Linked DNA regions of Homo sapiens: region 2 is linked to region 1. Evidence: promoter capture Hi-C in 16 types of primary human blood cells and fetal thymus (Javierre and others, 2016). All regions are on one chromosome and are shown on one strand. Each heading gives the region's core, a stretch centred on a gene start or on the middle of the fragment in contact. The rest is flanking DNA. Distances are from core to core; before and after follow the strand shown. Region 1 holds the start of KNSTRN (kinetochore localized astrin (SPAG5) binding protein). Region 2 holds the start of RTF1 (RTF1 homolog, Paf1/RNA polymerase II complex component).

Evidence for each region. Contacts are between HindIII fragments. The CHiCAGO score rates a contact against its expected background, and 5 or more counts as called.
Region 2: a contact is called between the fragment with the promoter of RTF1 here and the fragment with the promoter of KNSTRN in region 1, in 1 of 17 cell types (neutrophils). The highest score is 5.3, in neutrophils.

What each region holds. Positions count from the first base shown.
Region 1 is chr15:40,380,343-40,386,974 of GRCh38, forward strand. It overlaps KNSTRN (kinetochore localized astrin (SPAG5) binding protein), which reads left to right and starts at 2,379. Exons shown (of 9, transcript NM_033286.4): 1 at 2,379-2,702; 2 at 2,886-2,980; 3 at 6,020-6,152. The coding sequence starts at 2,494. RefSeq lists enhancers at 1,257-1,757, 2,383-2,452, 2,412-2,935, 2,701-2,870, 2,936-3,457. The HindIII fragment of the contact is 4,100 bases long and covers 1-3,634 here.
Region 2 is chr15:41,413,581-41,420,333 of GRCh38, forward strand. RTF1 (RTF1 homolog, Paf1/RNA polymerase II complex component) reads left to right here and starts at 3,515. Exons shown (of 18, transcript NM_015138.5): 1 at 3,515-3,733. The coding sequence starts at 3,536. RefSeq lists an enhancer at 3,245-3,344 and a silencer at 3,405-3,994. The HindIII fragment of the contact is 7,291 bases long and covers 1-6,200 here.

The DNA of each region.
Region 1 (6,632 bases), core at 1,129-3,628:
TTATTTTATTTTTTATTTTATTTTGTTTGAGACAGAGTCTCGCTCTGTCACCCAGGCTGGAGTACAGTGGCACCATCTCGGCTCACTGCAACCTCCACCTCTGAGGTTCAAGTCATTCTCCTGCCTTAGCCTCCCAAGTAGCTGGGATTACAGGCATGCACCACCATGCCTGGCTAGTTTTTTGTATTTTTAGTAGAGATGGAGTTTCACCATGTTGGCCAGGCTGGTTTCGAATTTCTGGCCTTAAGTGATCCCACCTCAGCCTCCCAAAGTGCTGGGATTACAGGTGTGAGCCACTGTGCCTGGCCATTTTTTTGTATTTTTAGCAGAGACGGGGTTTCATCATGTTGGCCAGGCTGGTCTCGAACTCCTAAATATCAAGATTTTAAGTACATTCATATGTCAACAACTCCCAAGGGTGTATCTCCAATCCAGGCTCTCTTCTGGGCTCAGGGCCTGTATTTCCAATTGCCTACTTGACCACTCCACCGGAATGCCTCAAAGATATGTCGAGGTTTTCCACGTTCAAAACCCAACTCTCAATCTCCCCCAGCAGAAAATAGTGACTCTATCCACACAATTATTCAAGCCCAATTATTCGAAAAGAAAAAGGACTGGGCGTGGTGGCTCACGCCTGTAATCCCAGTACTTTGGGAGGCCGAAGCGAGCAGATCACCTGAGGTCAGGAGTTTGAGACCAGTCTGGCCAACATGGTGAAACCCCGTCTCTACTAAAAATATAAAAAATTAGCCAAGCGTGGTGGTGGCACTGTAGACCCAGCTACTCGGGAGACTGAGGCAGGAGAATCGCTTTAACTCAGGAGGCGGAGGTTGCAGTGAGCCGAGATCGTGCCACTGCACTCCAGCCTGGGCAACAGAGTGAGACTCCGTCTCCAAAAAAAAAAAGAAAGAAAAGAATATATATATAAAGTATATATAAATTGAGCCAGGTACAGTGGCTCATGCCTGTAATTCCAACACTTTGGGAGGCTGAAGTGGGAGGATCATTTGAGGCCAGGGGTTTAAGACCAGCCTGGGCATCATAGCAGGACCCCATCTCTACAAAAATTAGCTGGGTCTGGTGGCAGGCACCTTTAGTCTTAGCTACTCAGGAGGCCGAGGTGGGAGGATCTCCTGAGCCCAGGAGTTCAAGGTTGCAGTGAACTATGATTGCACTCCAGCCTGGGCAACAGAGTGAGACCCTGTCTCAAAAAATAATAATAAAATAAAATAAAATATAAATTGGATGACACTCTCCTGCTATAATACTTCAGTGGCTTTCCATTACTTTTAGATAAAATCTAATCTCTATACCTTGGCCTGTAAAATCTGTCTTTTGACTGCTTATTTCTCCAGCTTTATCTGTACCACTCTCTTCCTATCTTTCTGTGCCTATAGAAGAACCCATTTCTGCCTTGGGACTTTGCATTTTCCCCTTTCCCCAATGAAATTAACTCCCTCTCCTTCCTTAATCAAACATCATCTCAGAGAGGTCTTCCCTGAGCCCCCAATATAATCTAAGTTTCCCTGCTTTTCTATCTTATACGATTTTGTACTTTTTCTTCATAGTGTGTGTGTTTTGGTTTGATTTTTGAGATCACGCTCTGTCACCCAGGGTGAAGTGCAGTGGCGCGATCTCCGCTCACTGCAACCTCTGCCCCGCCCAGGGTCACATAATTCCCCCACCTCAGCCTCCAGGGTAGCTGGGACTACAGGAGCATGCCACGACACCTGGCTAATTTCTGTATTTTTTGTAGAGACGGGGTTGCACCATGTCGCCCAGGGTGGTCTCAAACTCCTGGACTCAAGCAATTCACCCGCCTCCACCTCCCAAAGTGCTATAATTACAGCTGTGAGCCACTGTGCCCAGCCTTCTTCACAATTTCACCACAATCCGTAAATATATATTTATTTATGTGATTATTTGTTCACTGTCTGTTTTCTAAGTTGTAAACTCCAGGAGGGCAGAGCCAAGGTCAATCTTGATATTTGCCCTCCCTCACTCCCTTCCACCCACTGAGAACACTGTTGGGTAATCAGCAGGTACTCAATAAATGCCAGATGAAATGAATGAGCTAGTGCATTTAGTAATGGAAGCTACCCTGTTTATTGGGAGTAGCTTTGAATCACTACTGAAAATCTGGATAAGTGCTATTAAAATTAGGACCTCAGGTAGGTGCCTCAGGTATCTCAGCCCATAGGTCCTTTTCTTCAAGCCTCACCTGCCACTCTCCACCTGTAACGTGTAGTTTTCATCCAAATAACCTGTGCTCCTGGCAATATCCCTAACAATCCCAAACTAAATAAAGAGGATTGTGACATGGACCCTAAATGTCGCCACGTTTGCGTCTCCATCCCGGAATATGACGCTGGTAGCTCATTAGCTCCATTCAAGCCTACAAATTGCATCACCCTCCTCCTCTGCCCAGACCTGGGGGCTCCAACACCTTTCGCTAGGTCTGGCTCTGGCCTCTGAGCGAACCTTCCGTACAGTATGGCGGCTCCCGAAGCCCCGCCCCTGGACAGAGTTTTCCGTACAACATGGCTGTCTACAGAGTGCGATTCCCACCCACTTCCGCCTAGCTACCGGAAGTTTCTATTTGAAACCCAGGCGGCCGACTTAGCCGGTGGCACGACAGTTGCTGCAGGGAATCTTTTAAACGAGAGCGAGAAGGACTGCGGGCAGGACCGGCGGGCTCCTGGGTTCGGCTCTCCCGGGGCGAGGGACTGGGCTGGATGGGAGGAAGGACGGAATGAGCTGGGAAAGGAGGATTTTCTCTTTTCCAACCCCGAGCCGGGGCCTGTCGGGTCGCGCTATCCCCGGGCCCTCCACTCTCTCGGGCCCAGTGGCCCAGCGCTGGGTAACATTCATCCTGTACCTTCCAGGGTTCAGCCGTGCCGCCTCGTTACGATGACCAGTGTGGTTAAGACAGTGTATAGCCTGCAGCCCCCCTCTGCGCTGAGCGGCGGCCAGCCGGCAGGTGAGGGTCCAAGCCACGCCCGGGGCACTGCGGCCTGGCCGGGGATGGTCTCGGGAGTGTGGAGATCGAATGGGTGGCGCGGGCACGGGGAAGGGCGTCCCGTCGGCCCTGAAAACCTGTGAGCCCCCTATAACCAGGCTATGTAGGTTTATGATGGGAGTTAAGGGAAGGACCATGTGGTAGGATTTTAGACGTGCTCTGCACTTTTCTGCCCGCATGTGTACTGTATTCATCAGTTAGATTCAAGTTGTTGGTTATTGTACAATGTTATTCCCATTAAGCTAGGAATCCCCTTCTAATCGGTTATCGTCTTATTTCCAGACTTGGGCTATCTTGAGGGATTGGGTTTGTTTTCAGGGAGGAAAGAGGAGAATCATTTGAGAAGTGGGATACTTAGGGTTCTTTGTTCACCTTTATATCTGCACCGTGTTTCTCATTACCACATTCTCAATACACGTTTGTTGAGTGAAGTGGGAGAGAGGGGTTAGACCTAGGCACAGTATTTGAGAAACTTGGGCGAAGAGAGAGACATGATTAAAAATAGTTTTTAATTGCTTTGCCATCTGCTTTGTGTTGCTTTGCTTGTGGTTGAAAGTCATCTCATGGGGTCTGCAGTCGGGGAACTGCCTAATCTAGAGATTATAGTACAGAGTAAGCTTCAGACATCAGAAAACTGTTGTGGGAGATTATGGAGTAGCTATTTATGATCCCTTCCCAGATGATTCCACTCAGCTGGTACATAAACCTTGGCAAGATGGAGCGCTGAAGTGGCCAGGCACGGTGGCTCACGCCTGTAATCCCAGCACTTTGGGAGGGCGAGGTGGGCAGATCACGAGGTCAGGAGATGGAGACCATCCTGGCTAACACGGTGAAGCACCGTCTCTACTAAAAAATACAAAAACTTAGCCGGGCGTGGTGGCGGGCGCCTGTAGTCCCAGCTACTTGGGAGGCTGAGGCAGGAGAATGGCGTGAACCCGGGAGGCGGAGCTTGCAGTGAGCCGATATTGCGCCACTGCACTCCAGCCTGGGCGACAGAGCGAGACTCCGTCTCAAAAAAAAAAAGATTGAGCTCTGAAGTAAATAGGCTTTTCTCCAAAGGCTTAATGGGTTGTTTGTTGTCTTGTGTTGCCGCAGAACACCTGAATGGTAATCCTGGCACCAGCGGGGACTAGGAGTTGCTGGAAGAACTGGAGCCAGGTCTCTCAGCTGCTGTGTCTTTCCCTTAGATGCGGTGCCCCTGAGTCAGTGGGCAGTGACTAGCTCTCTCAGCCAAGTTGGAAGTGTTCATCTCTTTGATTTCTATCTCTGTCCCAGCTTTATGATCATATGTAACTGGAACAGTTTCAAATTTTTAGGCTGCCTCCCAGGATTTTTGTTTTGATTTTGAGCGTGGGCTGGATAAGTAATATATGCACATGTGAAAAAAAAAAAGGTGGAAAACCATATACAATGATAAACAAGTTTCCTTCCCTTCCTTGACACCAGCCATCCAGTTCCTCTCCCAGTGTCTCCCATTTTTAAGAGACAGCTTTGTTAAATCCTACTGAATTTTTCCTACAGTGCAATCCTAGATTTTAGCAAATACAAATTATTGGAACCAATTCTAGTCAATGAAGAGTGTTAATTTTGATCAATTGACTGTTAACTCCATTTTACATGGAGTAGATTTGTTATTGTTTAAAACTTACTAATACTTGAGAGAGGAGAAGATGATATTCCTCCAAGATTACCTTTTTCTTCAGACAGACACCTCAGAAAGAACCCTTTTAATACTTCATTTGTACTGCATTTCTTCAATTTGATTTGATTGTAATGGCTCTTAAGTTAGGTCAAACTTAAAGGGGCCATTTTACAGTGAACAAAGTGAGAGTAAGTCCAGAAAAGCCTGCATGTGAGGGTGGGGGTGCTTAACTCCAGATAAGTTACTTGAATTTGCTGTAGAACACAAATGATAGATTGTGTGGTTGCGGGGCTGGCACAAGGATAGAGGAAAATGCTCTCCTTTGGGGAAGAAGAGTGTTATGGCAGGGCCATTTCTCTGGTTATCTGGCAAGAAGATCAGATTAGAATGCCTAATAGGGAAACTCTAAACTTAACAAAGGGTAAACAAAAGGGCTAGTGGTAGAGGCAGGCAGCATGGAAGAGGAAGGGACCAGACAGGTGGTTTAGAGATGGTCTGTGAAACAACCCATGGAACTGTGAAGTGTTTCATTTATTCAACAAGCAGTTATTGAACCCCTGTTCATATGCCAGATACTTTCCTAGGTGATGGGGACACAAAGATGCCTTAGAATGGTTAGGAAGACATTCTAGTAAAAACAACGAAGTAACGGTTTAAAAAAACTCAGAGCAGCTCAGTCATGCCTTAGGAGAGTGTGCAGAGTGCTTGGAGGAGCTTAATGAGATGGTACAAGGATTCAGGCATGTTTTACCTGCTAACTTCCACCCTGCTCTCTGCTGGTGTCCATCTCCATGTTCACTTTTACAGCCTACACCTTTCAGTTCAATGAAACTTTTGGCTACCCTCAAACATGCTGTACTGTCACGTTTAAATAATTTTGGTTTTTATTGCCAATTAGCCTGGAAGTTTTATTCTTTTGAATTAATCTTCACATGTTGAAATTTGCCAGAATGAAAATAAAGATTTGGCCAGGCATCGTGGCTCACGCCAGAGTGGCCAAGGCAGGAGGATTGCTTGAGCCCAGGAGTTCGAGACCAGGCTGGGCAACATAGTGAGACCCTGTCTCTATTTTTAAAATTTTAAAACATATTTGAGGTGCCTATAGTCCAGCTACTCGGGAGGCTGAGGCAGGAGAATCGTTTGAACCCAAGAGGTGGAGGTTGCAGTGAGCCAAGATCACACCACTGTACTCCAGCCTGGGCCACAGAGCAAGACTCTGTCTCAAAAAAATAAATAATACTTTTTAAAATAAAGTAAAATAAAGATTTATGACAACTTCGAATGGGGCTCTGTTTGTTACAGGGTTGCAACTGTCGGGTCATGATGCCAGAAGCTTTACCTCTCATTTTCCTTTGCAGACACACAAACTCGGGCCACTTCTAAGAGTCTCTTACCTGTTAGGTCCAAAGAAGTCGATGTTTCCAAACAGCTTCATTCAGGAGGTCCAGAGAATGATGTTACAAAAATCACCAAACTGAGACGAGAGAATGGGTGAGAACGGATCATTAGTATCCAGTTAGAACATCTTCCTAGAAATTGCTCAATACAAAGAATTAGAAAACAGAGTTTTGGACAACACAAGTCTCCTGAACAACTGGCCTTCAATCAGTGGCCCAGAGCAGTGCAGCATTGCTGAGCTCTGTGCCAGAACCCTCTGTGTTGATCTTTCTGAAGAGACACAGCCAGAGTTATAAGAGGTGTTCTTTCCTCTTTCATCGCTTGCTCTGAGCATACAAGTGGCAGCACTGTAGTCATACAGCAACCCTGAGGGGTAGTCATGCAGGGTGGGGACTAGTTGTTATCCTAGGTTGCTGCTCTGACCACACAGTCCAGCCCTAGTGTGTGTGTATGTCCCCAGCCAGCAGTCAGTTCCAGGTGAGTGAGGTTGACATGAGATAGCCACGCCATCTTGAGAGGAACAGCTCTGTCAGGTTGTTAGGGTGGTCGGAGGCATGCCCCTTTGCTACTAAA
Region 2 (6,753 bases), core at 2,265-4,764, 1.0 Mb after region 1:
ACTTATTATTATCATTATTTTTTTAAATTTTGAGATGGAATTTCACTCTTGTTGCCCAGGCTGGAGTGCAATGGCGCGATCTCAGCTCACTCCAACTCCGCCTCCTGGGTTCAAGTGATTCTCCTGCCTCAGCCTCCCAGGTAGCTGGGATTACATGCGCCTGCCACAATGCACAGCTAATTTTTTTTTTTTTGTATTTTTAGTAGAGATGGGATTTCACCATGTCGGCCAGGCTGGTCTTGAACTCCTGACCTCAGGTAATCCGCCTGCCTCGGCCTCCCAAAGTGCTGGGATTACAGGCGTGAGCCACCACACTCGGCTTGGCCTAACTTACTATTTTTTTTGAGACGTGGTTTCTCTAAGTTGCCAAGGATGGATTCCACCTCCTGGGCTCAACCGATCCTCCTACCTTAGCCTCCCAAGTAACTGGGACCATAGACCTGTGCCTCCATGCCTGCTTTGTAAACTTAAACCTTATAAGAACCCAAAGAGACAGACACTATCATTATCCTCATTTTACTAATTGGAAACTTTGACTGGTTGGGTTCTCTGGGAAGCTGACTCAAGAGGGAGTTTAAAGCAACGTTTATTCACTAAATTTAGACATTGATTAGACTCAATACGGACTAACTTCAGTACGTGAATCATTAGAAGACCCCTTGCAGAAAGATCAAAATCTACAGATTTCACTCAAAGAACATACTTTTATTAATTCCAGTCAAGGGCCACTGACCATGTCATGGCTTCCTTTTTAGCAGTACTGTGTATTAACACATTTAAAGAGGGTCCTCCAGAAGGGCACCACAGGCTTCAGGGTGGCTAGACATACGGAAGCTGGGCTGGTGATTCGGGGTCACCTTGGCCATGGTTCCAAGGATATGTCGGGGGAGAAAAGTCTATGAGCTGTATCTTAGGAAAACTCTTCTAGGGTAAAGAGGTAGTTGGACTTTATTTAGGTTGTTTTATTTATTTATTTTTTTGAGACAGGGTCTCACTTTGTCACCCAGGCTGAAGTGCAGTGGTGCGATTATTTTCTTTTTTCCTTTTTTTTTTTTTGAGAACAGGCTCGCTATTGTTGCCCAGGCTGGAGTGCAGTGGCGCGATCTCAGCTCACTGCAACCTCCACCTCCCAGGTTCAAGCAATTCTCTGCCTCAGCCTCCCAAGTAGCTGGGAATACATGCGCCCACCACCACGTCTGACTAATTTTTGTATTTTTAGTAGAAACGGGGTTTCACTGTCTTGGCCAAGTTGGTCTTGAGCTCCTGACCTCGTGATCCACCTGCCTCAGCCTCCCAAAGTGCTGGGGTTACAGGAAAGAGCCACTGCACCCGGTCCAGATTATTATTATTATTATTATTATTATTTTTGAGAAAGAGTCACGTCTGTTGCCAGGCTGGAGTGCAGTGGTACGATTTCGTCTCACTGCAGCCTCCGCCTTCAGGTTCAAGTGATTCTCCTGCCTCAGCCTCCCAAGTAGCTGGGATTACAGGAACACGCCACTATGCCCGGCTAATTTTTGTATTTTTAGTAGAGACAGGGTTTTACCATGTTGGTCAGGCTGGTCTCGATTTCCTGACCTTGTGATCCCCCTGCCTCAGCCTCCCAAAGTTGGGATTACAGGCGTGAGCCACTGTGCCCGGCCTAATTTTTGTATTTTTAGTAGAGATGGGGTTTTGCCATGTTGGCCAGGCAGGTCTTGAACTCCTGCCCTCAGGTGATCGGCCCTCTTCAGCTTCCCAAAGTGCTGGGATTACATGTGTGAGCCACCACGCCCGGCCCCTACTTTATATTCCTAATCACTAAAGGAAATAACTTCTGGAGCTGACCTTTTTATCAGCTGACCTCAAACTTAAGTATAAAAACTTATTTCCTATACACACCAGTTCCCAAAACCTTCTTCTCTCCTCTTGTATTTCATTTTTTTGATGAAGGGCTCACCTGCCACTAGCTTCCTAAGCTAGAATCTGAACATCAATAGGTATCTGGGAGCACTCCTTCCCTTACCCCTATCCCAAATCCTGGGGATTCTACGTTCCAAATTATCCAGAGTCCATCCACTTCTTTCCATTCCCACAGCTTCGTCCTTAGGTCAGGACACCATCATCTCTTGCCAAGAAGACAACAACAATCCAAGCGATCTCCCTGCCCTTAGTCCATTCGCCATACTGCGGTCAGAGTAATCTTTGAAAAACACAAATCAGGCCTGGGTGCAGTGGCTCATGCCTATAATCCCAGCACTTTGGGAGGCTGAGGCGGGCGGATCACCGGAGGCCAGGAGTTTGAGACCAGCCTGGCCAACATGCTGAAACCCCATCTCTACTGAAAATACAAAAATTAGCAGGGCGTGGTGAAGGGCGTCTGTAATGCCATCTATTCCGGAGGTTGAGGCTGGAGAATCGCTTGAACCCAGGCGGCAGAAGTTGCAGTGAGCCAAGATCGCGCCATTGCACTCCAGCCTGGGCGACAAGAACGAAACTCCGTCTCAAAAAAAAAAAAAAAAAAAAAATTAGCCGGGCGTGGTGGCAGGAGCCTGTAATCCCAGCTACTCAGGAGGCTGAGGCAGGAGAATCGCTTGAACCTGGGAAGCGGAGTTGCAGTGAGCTGCCACTGCACTCCAGGCCGGGCAACAAGAGCGACTCCGTCTCCAAAACAAACGAACAAACAAACAAACAAACAAAAAAACACCACCACAAATCAGGCTGGGCACGGTAGCTCACGCCTGTAATCCCAGCACTTTGGGAGGCCAAGGCAGGAGGATCCCTTGGGCCCAGGGGTTCGAGACCAGCCTGGGCAATATAGGGAGGCCCCGTCTCTACTAAAACACAAAACCACACACAAATCAAATCATGTGGTTCTTCAGTTTAAAATCTTTCAATACTCAAGTTCAAACTCCCTAATTCAGCTTACTTATTAGGATCTGAGTGAGGCAGTCGCCGTGTCCTTCTCCAGCCTGGTCTGTCGCCTATCCCCACCCACAATCTCTGCTCTGGCCATAACTAACTTCAGTTCTCCGAACCTAACTTTATTATCGCCGGGCCATTTTGCCTACGCTGTTCTCTGCATGCAACACTCTACTCTCCTTTTGGGTAATTCAGATGCATTCTCCAGGTCCCAGCTCAGCTGTCATTCGCACAGCCCGGGTCGGCAGTCTCCAGCCCCCAACCGGTGTCCACCGCGTGGTCCAGGCGACTTATGTCTTCCAGGCCGTCGGCCCCTTAAGTACACGCCATCAGTGTTGGACAGCTTGAAAGTAGGTAGACACGTGAGCCCCCTCAGAGAGAACCTGGATCCTTGCGGCTCCAGCCCCCGATAGGAAGAGAGCCCACCAAACTTCGGCTCCGCAGCAGAGATACAGCCAAGGACTCCAGGGCAGTCGCGGGTAAAGCCACCACCACTCTCTGCCGGGAACCAGCGACGGGGGAAGGCCCCGCCTCTCACGCTGCGTCGGGGGCGGGGCAGGGCGGGGCACCCGGCGACCTGCGAACGGCGTGCGGCGAGCAGGGGGCGGGGCCAGGGGGGCGGAGCGGAGCGCGCATGCGCGGTCGCCTTTGTGTGGGTCGAGCAGCGGCGGCGGCGGCGGCAGTGGCGGTCCCACTGGCAGGCGGGCAAGAGGGGAGTCCGGGCGGCGGCCGGCGTGGGAGCCGGGGGACCACCATGGTAAAGAAGCGGAAAGGCCGCGTCGTGATCGACTCGGACACAGAGGACAGCGGCAGCGACGAGAACCTGGATCAGGTGAGGGCAGGCCGCGGAGGCGCGGGCCGGCGGAGCCAGAGGGCTGTCGGGGCCGCGGGAGCCGGAGACGGCCGGGCCTGGAGCCTTCCTACCAGAGCGCCCAGCTCGCCCCGTGCCCTGGGCACCACTACAGCCCCTTTCCCGTCTTCCTGGAGTGTGCGGGGCCTTGGAGACCGGCCCGGGCCTGGAGACGGAGCCCCGAGGACTTGGCGCCTTGGGCGGGGAGGCGGGGCAGGGACCGGGCCGTTGGGCCTCGGGCTCGGGGGTAGCGAAAGGGGCCGCGATCTTCCGGGGCCAGATCGGGGCGGCGGGCTGTAGTCCAGGAGATCCGGGCTGGGAGAGATAGGAAGTATCGCCCGCCAACCTGGGAGGCTGGGAGGTTTTGGAGGAGGTGCAAGGGTGCGCGTCGAGCAGTTGGGGGCGAGGGCCAAGAAGATCCGGACTCTGGAAGATGGAAGTTTTTCGGACAAGGGATGTGGACAGAGGAAGGACACTCGTAAATGTTCCTAGGAGCCTCTGCCATGCTTGCCAAGGATGACTTAGCTGTGGGCACGAGTTTATTTGGCGACTAGGGTCGTTTGTGTTTGAGAAGGGCCCTTGTTGAGGTGTCAGACCCAAAAAAACACTCTTGGGTGGAGGAAAGAGGGCAGATACTGGAAGAAATAGAGAACTATGTAGGGCGACATGGAGGGACTGTGCATAGCCCAGGCCTCCTCTTGGCCCTTTCACGCAGCATCCCAGAATTCTTTCTTACTTGAAGACTGCAGGAAGCACTGAAAGTAACTTTTGGCCTCAGTGTCTTGGGGTTGAACTGTTTATATACTCTAGAAAACATTGTAGGGAGGAATCTGCTCTTTGTAGCAGTGCTCTAGTGATACCAGGCGATACAAAGATGGTCTCCTTTCTGTTTAATGAGCAAATGATGTAAAGAAAGAATATGCAAGAGATAGTAGCTTTTGAGTAGAAAGAGTATTGAACTTGGAGTCTGAAAATTTGAATTCTAGGCTGGGCTTATGCTATTTTCTAGCTATATATCTTTGGTCTTAAATGTAAAATGAAAATGTAACATCAGCCTTGTGTATCTAATTGGTTTATTGTAAAGATCAAGTGTTTGTAAAAATTGATGGCAGTGCAAGCATTTGCTAATTGTAAAGTTTTTCTATGAATGGCTTCTTGGGGGTCTTTTATATGAAGCCAGAGGTCTCAGTTTGAAAGTATTAGGGGCTGGGCGCGGTGGCTCACGCCTGTAGTCCCAGCACTTTGGGAGGCCAAGGCTCATCTGAGGTCGGGAGTTCGAGACCAGCCTGACCAACATGGAGAAACCCCATCTCTACTAAAAATACAAAATTAGCGGGGCGTGGTGGCACATGCCTGTAATCCCAGCTACTCGGGAGGCTGAGGCAGGAGAATTCTTGAACCCGGGAGGCGGAGGTTGCAGTGAGCCTGGGCAACAAGAGCGAAACTCCATCACAAAAAAAAAAAAAAAAAGAAAAGAAAGAAAAAGAAAGTATTAAGGCATAAAAGGGGAGGACTTTTTATTTATTTATTTATTTTTTTTTGAGACGGAGTCTCGCACTGTCGCCCAGGCTGGAGTGCAGTGGTGCGATCTTGGCTTCACTGCAAGCTCCGCCAAGGGGAGGACTTTTAAGAAGAAAAGGATTGAGGAGGTGCTGTAGAAAGAAGACTGCTTTGAAAATGGTGGTAGGGAGATGGAGAAGTAATGGGGCCTGTGTAAGACTATCTAAGGAATAGAAACTTTGTTTTGGGGTAGGAATTGAAAATGTTCTCATTGAAAGGCTCCTGAAGTTTACAAAAATATCAAAAGTATAATTTCGACTGTAAAAGTTTGATTGGTAGATAATTTTAGACTGGCAATTAGAAGGAGTAGAATCTATTTTTTTCTGTCTTTTCATCTACAAATGTGAATGTTTCAGACAATAACAACATTGGCTACCATTTATATAGTGCCTAGAGTAGGCACTTTAATTGTTTTGTTTAGATTTTCAAGTTTTCACATTATGGTAAATTTGGAATTATTTCCTCTACTTTACATAAAGAAAATGGAGGTTGAAAAAGTTAAATAACTCACAACTAGTAAGTGGTAGCATTGGGATTTGAACCCAGATCTGCATGAGTACAAAGCCTATACTGTTTCCACTATACCAACTCAATCTGTTAGTTTTAAATTTTTTTCATACTGCAAAATGATAATGTTTCACAGTCATTTTTCATGGTGCTAGAGTTCGTGTTTATAAAGTACACTGGATAGTTTAGAGGAAATTGGTACATACATTAAAAGGATTATTTGGGGGGATTTCTTGGTAAAGCACTCTCAAGACATCTGTTCAAGTGATGAATGAACTGAACTGCAAATTATTGTCCTTAGTAGTTTCCCACAGAATTCTGATGAATAAAATAAGTTGAGTGCTTCTTTTCGTGGTAGAGATATTTCACCTGATCCACAAAAAGCTTTTTCAAAGTGGGAACTGCAGAGAATTGCCACTTTATTTATTTATTTATTTTTGAGACGGAGTCTTGTTCTGTTGCCTGGGCTGGAGTTCAGTGGCACAATCTCAACTCACTGCAACCTCCGCCCACTGGGTTCAAGCGATTCTCCTGCTTCAGCCTCCCGTGTAGCTGGGACTACAGGTGCCTGTCACCACACCTGGCTAATTTTTTGTATTTTTAGTGGAGACAGGGTTTCTCCATGTTGGCCAGGCTGGTTTCGAACTCCTGACCTCAAGTGATATGCCCACCTCGGCCTCCCAAAGTGCTGGGATTACAGGCATGAGCCACCGTGCTTGGCCGGAATTGCAATTTTAAATCCAATTCTAAATATCTATTTGTAAAAGGAAATTAACATAAAATGTGTAATACCTAATACATTTTAACAACAAATTTAACTTCCTCCCCTTCAGCTTCTTATTTGCATTCTTGTTATCAGATGGGAACTAGATCAAAATTCCCTTTCCCTGCACATCCTAACAGGGGTATTGATGCCTTCAGTTTGTCTGTTCAGC